2 separate regions of the Homo sapiens genome follow, and region 1 is linked to region 2. Evidence: promoter capture Hi-C in 16 types of primary human blood cells and fetal thymus (Javierre and others, 2016). All regions are on one chromosome and are shown on one strand. The core of a region is centred on a gene start or on the middle of the fragment in contact, and the rest is flanking DNA. Distances in the headings are between cores, read along the strand shown.

What was found. Contacts are between HindIII fragments. The CHiCAGO score rates a contact against its expected background, and 5 or more counts as called.
Region 1: the fragment with the promoter of TCTN3 here is called in contact with the fragment with the promoter of R3HCC1L in region 2 in 2 of 17 cell types (fetal thymus and total CD4 T cells); the score reaches 8.2 in fetal thymus.

What each region holds. Positions count from the first base shown.
Region 1 is chr10:95,692,595-95,695,837 of GRCh38, forward strand. It overlaps TCTN3 (tectonic family member 3), which reads right to left and starts at 1,333. Exons shown (of 14, transcript NM_015631.6): 1 at 1,050-1,333; 2 at 759-882; 3 at 326-444. The coding sequence starts at 1,305. It also overlaps a transcript of ENTPD1 not described here. RefSeq lists enhancers at 1,038-1,317, 1,792-2,293. The HindIII fragment of the contact is 4,584 bases long and covers 64-3,243 here.
Region 2 is chr10:98,133,287-98,136,707 of GRCh38, forward strand. R3HCC1L (R3H domain and coiled-coil containing 1 like) reads left to right here and starts at 1,371. Exons shown (of 10, transcript NM_001351015.2): 1 at 1,371-1,420. RefSeq lists enhancers at 1,798-2,587, 1,930-2,069. The HindIII fragment of the contact is 1,235 bases long and covers 951-2,185 here.

The DNA of each region.
Region 1 (3,243 bases), core at 83-2,582, 2.4 Mb before region 2:
TTTAAAAAAAAGAAATGGAAAAAAGGCCAGAATAAAAGCCAATTCTCAATAAATGTTAGACCAAGCTTGTCCAACCTGCAACCCACCGGCCGCATGCAGCCCAGGACGGCTTATGAATGCAGCCCAACAACACAAATTTGTAAACTTTCTTAAAACATTTGACATTTTTTTTGCTTTTTTTTTGTTGTTGTTTTTAACTCATCAGCTATCGTTAGTGTATTTTACGTGTGGCCCAAGACAATTCTTCTTCCAATGTGGGCCAGGGAAGACAAAATATAACACTCCTGTGTTAGAAAATGAGAACAACCAACATGTTTCTACTCACAGTTGTTCACATGGACACAAAACTGCCTGATTCCATTAGAATCCATGAAAACTCTTGAAGGAAACGGGGAATTACTCCTGAAGATAACAGAGTTGTCTACACAAACCCAGCTTGAAGACCTGTGAGGAAAGAGGAGGGAGAAGATATATTTAGAAGGGGCGGGGCAGGTCCAAAAAAGAGTGTCCCAGCAATATCGGCCAGATGATGCCAAAGAGGACTCCTTGGGCACCTATAGGACGACACGAAGGTCTTATTCTACTGGCCAGCCCTGCTCTAGAGAATCAGAAAAGGCAATTCCTAGGAAAAACCAAGGGAATGTCCTAGGAGTGGAAGTACGGGTGGGAGGCACAAAGACTAACTCTTCTTACATCCAAATGTTACCCGTTGTAGGCCCCAAACCCCTTTAGGATTCAGTCTGAGCAACGAAGCTCACCTTACGCTGCCTGGAAGGCAGAAGGAGAAAACTGTCCTCGGATGGAGAAGATAGCAGTCCCTGTCGCAGCAGCAATTTATATCGCAGGCTCCAGGAGTCAAGTCACAGACACAGATCGGTAAGACTATGAAAGTACGACACAGAGTGAGTGGGATGAAGATCCCCAAACTCTCCCAGGTGCTCACCCTCCTTCTTCCGACAGCCCCACTCCTGCTTTGTGGCAGCTCAACTTTGCTCACAGAATTTTAGATCTCAGAAGTAAGTTTCCACCCCCACAACGTTTTCCCTCACCTGGGAAGAGGTCCACAGTCCTATTCCCAGGGGCCGAGGGAGTCACGAGAGTAGGGACCACTGTAGGGAGTCCAGGCACGGCCGGGCGAGTTGCAGTCGCCTCTGAAGGGGACTGGAGGGTTCCGCCATCCGTCCCTCGCTGCAGCTCCAAAGACGTGGGCACTGCCCCTGATGGGGAGGAAGAGGGCTGAGGCCGGACGCCATCGGGGAACACCAGAAAGAACACTTGCAGGAGCGCGAGCTGTGGGGTGCGCATGGGGCATTCAGGGCCTCCGGGTCCGACGTAGGCCTCCGCGGTCTCCAATCGCATTGCCAGAGCGTGGGTGGGAGGAGTCGCATAGCGTCTGACGCCATCCGCGTGCCTCTTCTCATTGGCTCATGAGAAGGCTGAGAGCTCTTCAACCAATCGAAAGTGGGGTTGTTACAGCTCTTTCAGTGTCCTTCGGTCTGCGCCCTCCTCCTTAACGCGGGCCGGGCCGTGCCTCCGTTGCCTGGCAACCGTCAGTGACGAAGAAGCCCTTGCGCCTTCCTTCCGCTAGGTGGCGGTAGGAGTTCGGCGGACCGAGAGGTTCCGCGCCCACTTCGCGGCCCAGAGGACTGAGCCCGGCCTCCGGTGCAAGGAAACCCCAGAGGCCGGAACTAGAATTGCAAATTTTTTTTCACCCCGGATTCCAACGGTGAGAAACCCTTTCTATGGAAGAATAATGTTCTCAGGTGGGGGAAACACACCTAAGGTCACATACCTTAAAAAACAGTCTCCTCTAAATATGGCTTTTTTAAAAAAAAAAAAAACACATTAGAAATAATGTTCATTCAGCTCCTTACATTTTAACATTGAGAAATTTTGAAAACCCTAAAGAAATGCATCAAATCATTAAAGATGGACTGCATGTTTGTTGTTAGAAAAAGCAGTGAGAGAAAAATAAGAAAAAAGGGCAGGAAAAATGTGAGAAAATAGGGAGAGAAAGAATAAAAAAAAGAAACATTGTCTAGGAGGTGAGAAAATAAGATGGAGGAATGGAAATAGAAGATTTTTTTCCCCGTGTTAATGGCAAATTTTTTAAGCCTCTCTAGGAGGTTTTTGTTCTTCCCGGGAATGGCGTGCCTCTTCCGATTCCCCACAGCAGCGCGGGCCATGGGACTTTCCTTCGGTATTGGAAATGTACCGTAGCTGCACTGTCCAGCATGGTAGTCACCGGCCTTATGTGGCAATTGTGCGCTTGAAATGTGGCTAGCGTGACTGAGGAGCTGATTTTTTTTTTTTTTTTTTTTTTTGAGACGGTGTTTCGCTCTGTCGCTCAGGCTGGAGTGCAGTGGTGTGATCTCAGCTCACTGCAACCTCTGCCTCTAGGATTCAGGTGATTCTTCTGTTTCAGCCTCCTGAGTAGCTGGGATGACAGGCACGCGCCACCACGCCCGGCTAATTTTATTTTTATTTTTAGTAGAGATGGGGTTTCACCATGTTGTCCAGGCTGGTCTCGAATTCCTGACCTCAAGTGACCCTCCCGCCTTGGCCTCCTAAAGTGCTGGGATTACAGCTGTGAGTCGCTGTGCCTGGCCTGAATTTTTAATTTTTAAATTGTAATTAATTCAAAGTTAACCACAGACGTGAGTAGCTACCATATTGTACAGTGGGACTGTAGATGATCAAAATATTGCTCCTCCTAGACCCAGTATTTTCCTATGTCCACGGTTCTGACATCTGGATTATTTTGGATATTTAGTTTTAGTATATAAATTAACATCTGTTAAGAGTTATCTAAAATCTAGTACACTTACCTAAAATCTGGTCAACACCTCCCTTTACAAGTGAATCATTTAACTCAGGTAAGTTTTAGGACATTTGACTTTACTTGAATTCTCTTACAAGATCTTTATTTTCTAATGTTTTGAAGTCAGTAGCTAAAAGTCTCTCTGTGTTATAAATATTTTCAAATATGTTTTTATGTTGTTGTGTGATAGACAGCTATGGGAGATATGTGTTTGGTCTTAAAACATTTATTTACCTTATTAGTAATTTCTATAGGAAAAGGCCAAGTTCATATTATTCAGATTATATGATCATATGTATATACTAGAATGTAAATTCCAAAAATAGTGAGTTTTGTCTGTTTTGTTCATTGAAATATCCCCATGCCTAGAACAGTGTCTGGGACATGTTAGATGTGCATTAAATATTTTAAAAATATATTAA
Region 2 (3,421 bases), core at 121-2,620:
GAACATTGTACTCTGTTCTGTTTCACTCTGACTACCACTGCATGAAGCCCCTGTCACATACACCCCAGATTGCTCAATCAATCACGACCCTTTCATGTGAAATCTTTAGTGTGGTGAGCCCTTAAAAGGGACAGAAATTGTGCACTCGGGGAGCTTGGATTTTAGGACAGTAGCTTGCCGATGCTCCCAGCTGAATAAAGCCCTTCGTTCTACAACTTGGTGTCTGAGAGGTTTTGTCTGCGGCTCGTCCTGCTACAATAGAATCTCCAAGATTTGGTGACCATTTGAATATTGGAGGAAGAGGAAGTGAGAAAGGAGGAATCAGGTTAAAGAGTGAATATTAATGAGTAGGGAGGAGGGGTAGTAGTTTACTTTTCTTTTTTTGGGGGACGGAGTCTCCCTGTGTTGCCCAGGCTGGAGTGCAGTGGTGCAATTTTGGCTTACTGCAACCTCCGCCTCCCGGGTTCAAGCGATTCTCCTTCAAGCAATTCTCCTGCCTCGGCCTCCTGGGTAGCTGGGATTACAGGTGCCCACCACCACGCACAGCTAATTTCTGTACTTTTAGTAGAGACAGGGTTTCACCATGTTGGTCAGGCTGGTCTCGAACTCCTGACCGCAGGTGATCCACCTGCCTTGGCCTCCCAAAGTGCTGGGATTACAGGCATGAGCCACTGTTCCTGGCCCCAGTAGTTCACTTTTCAAGGACACTGGAGATGCCTGTGGGCATGGATGAGGAGAGGTCTTGTCTAGGAAGTTGGGAATACAAACAATGAGCTCAGGTGAGAAGGGACTGGAGTGTCCCCTCTCCCACCCCAATTTTAAGAACTCTGGAAAACACCAATATTTTAGAGGTAAGTTAGAGGAAACAAAGTAGAATGAATTCAGAGAAGGAAAACCTGGATAGTGTCATAGAAAATAAGTGATAATGCCCAATAGCGTCAAATGACTAAAGCTTGAGTTAGATGAGTCCGGAAATACCTCCAATGAGTTTGGCAACAAGGACACTTATGACAACAAGGCATTTTCCATGGGGGCGGAAGCTGCGATGAGGAGTGAACACAGATGAGCAAGTAGAGACAGTGTAGATTATCTTTTTCAAAAAACTTGGCTGTGAACGGAGGAAGTGAGATGGTATAATTGAGTGGAATGTAAGGAGATTTGCGCACGTATATAGCCGAGAGGAATGAGGAAGGGTTGAAGGGACAGGAGCAGAAATGCTCTCCGGCACTCGCCATTTTGCCAGCTTCTCCCCTACGTGACCTGAACTCAGTGGGCGCGGCCGGGCCTCGCGGAAACTACAACCCCCAGAAGGCCCCACGGCGTTGGGGGCGGAGCCGAGGCCTGACGCGCGCCCCAGCGGCGCGAGCGGAAGAGATAGAGCTTCGCGGAGACGGCGGAAGCGGAGAGCAACAGCGCGCCGGTAACAACCAGCCCCGTATCCCCTCCCTCTGTACCTCAAGCTAGGATTTTTAATCCCCACTTCTCCCTTCACAGCCCGGGACAAGACTTCCATTCCGTCGTTTGTTGCTGGTATTTTTTTTCCTCATGTGACGCGAGGGGCCGCCCCCTGCCTGGGGCGGAGGTTACTGGGAAGCTCCCGCCTTCTGACCCCTGCGGGCCCGCGGTTGAGAGGGACCCTCCCGGGGCTCTTTTGCACTCACTGGGGCTCGTGCTCGCTTTGGGCGCTCGCCCCAAATGATCCTGGCGGAAAGGACGTGCTTTTTCTGGGTTTCAACAGGTATTGAGCGGGGTCCCTGGTTACCCCCTCGGGGCTGCGGGGCCGTGGGCCCCCAGGGCTGCCGGCGGTTTCCGGGCTTCGCTTCGAGCCTCGCCTTTGAGCCTCCTCCGCTGCCCGGGAGCCCCGGGCTACGGGCTGGGAGTGAGCAATCTATAAAGGAGCATGTACTTCCTGCTTTTTCTTGGCAGGCCTGCGAAAAACCCCAAGTCCGATCTTTAAAGTTTGTGAGTGCAGCCCCCTCTCAGTTGTGTACGGGAAGGAGCACAGGATTTGGAGTCTGATATCCTGGGGGAAGTCTCAGTCCGCCACTTGGCTGGACCTGTGATCTTTTGTACAGTAGTCTGTTTAGCGCAGCCTCGGTTTCGTTGTCTGAAAAGTGGGGTTAATGTTCTTTGCCCTGCGGCCTTCCAGGGTTGTGGGCTTCAGCAGAAGTGATATTCCTGCGAAAGCTTTGAACTCTAAAGTATGTTTCGGGTATAACCTTGCCATCCCCCAGTCTCCAGTCTAGGTCAGTTGAGTTTTAAAACCAGGTTCATGTCTATACGAAGATCAAATTAGTTAATAAATAGGGGGAAAGTGTCTTTGGAAACGAATCTGAACCATACAGATGTTTTTATGCCAGGTTCCTAGTGAAGAGGTGACCTTAGGGCGTTACCACCTGTGGAGTCAATTTAAAACTTCATCTGGATTTTAAGGCCCACCAGAATTTAGACTCTTCTTCCTCAGCACACACAACTATCTCTTGCTGTTATAACCTTCCTTCAGTATCACACAGGTACAAGCATAAAGCAGTAAACGTTCCTCAGATATGGTTGTACTACAACTAATACCTGTCCCCAGCAGGTCTTGTGTCTTGTGTCACAGTTGAAATTCAGAATATAAATAGCCAAATATCCCATCTGTTTAATTTTTTTTGACATTAAGCTTTGAGACTAAGCAAGTTGCTTATTGTCTTATTTTTCCCCTTACAGAGAATGCTAATTCTGCAATCAGTTTTTTTTTTTTTTTTGGGTAGAATCAGGATTTCACTATGTCGCCCAGATTGGTCTAACTCCTGGGCTCAAATGATCCTCCCGCCTCGACCTCCCAAAGTGTTGGTATTACAGGCGTTTGACACTGTGCCCACTGTGCCCGACCTCTGCGATTAATTTTTAAAGGGGTAAGAAAGTGTAGTTAGGTATTTTTAGTCTGTGTTTATTCTGAATTTATTGATTGAAGAATACTTGAAAATGGTCCAAAAAACAAGAGAGGATGACAGTAAGTTGCATTAGCTTAGTGTACAAATTCGAGCAAATTTGAGTTCAAGTCCTGGTGCTGTGTCTTACTACAGGTTGGAGTATCCTTATCTGAAATGCTTGGTACCAGAGTGTTTCAAATTTCAGATTTTGGTATATTTGCATATACATAGTTAGATATCTTTGGGATGGGACCCCAATCTAAACATGAAATTGATTTAGGTTTCATATATACCTTATATACATAGCCTAAAGGTAATTTTATATAGTATTTTTAATAATTTAATAATTTGTGTCCAGACGCGGTGCCTCACGCCTGTAATCCTAGCGCTTTGGGAGGCTGAGGCAGGCAGATTGCCTGAGCTCAGGAGTTCAAGACCAGCCTGGGCAACATAATGAAACCCCATCTCTATTAAAAGTACAAAAAATTAACCAGGTGTAGTGGTGC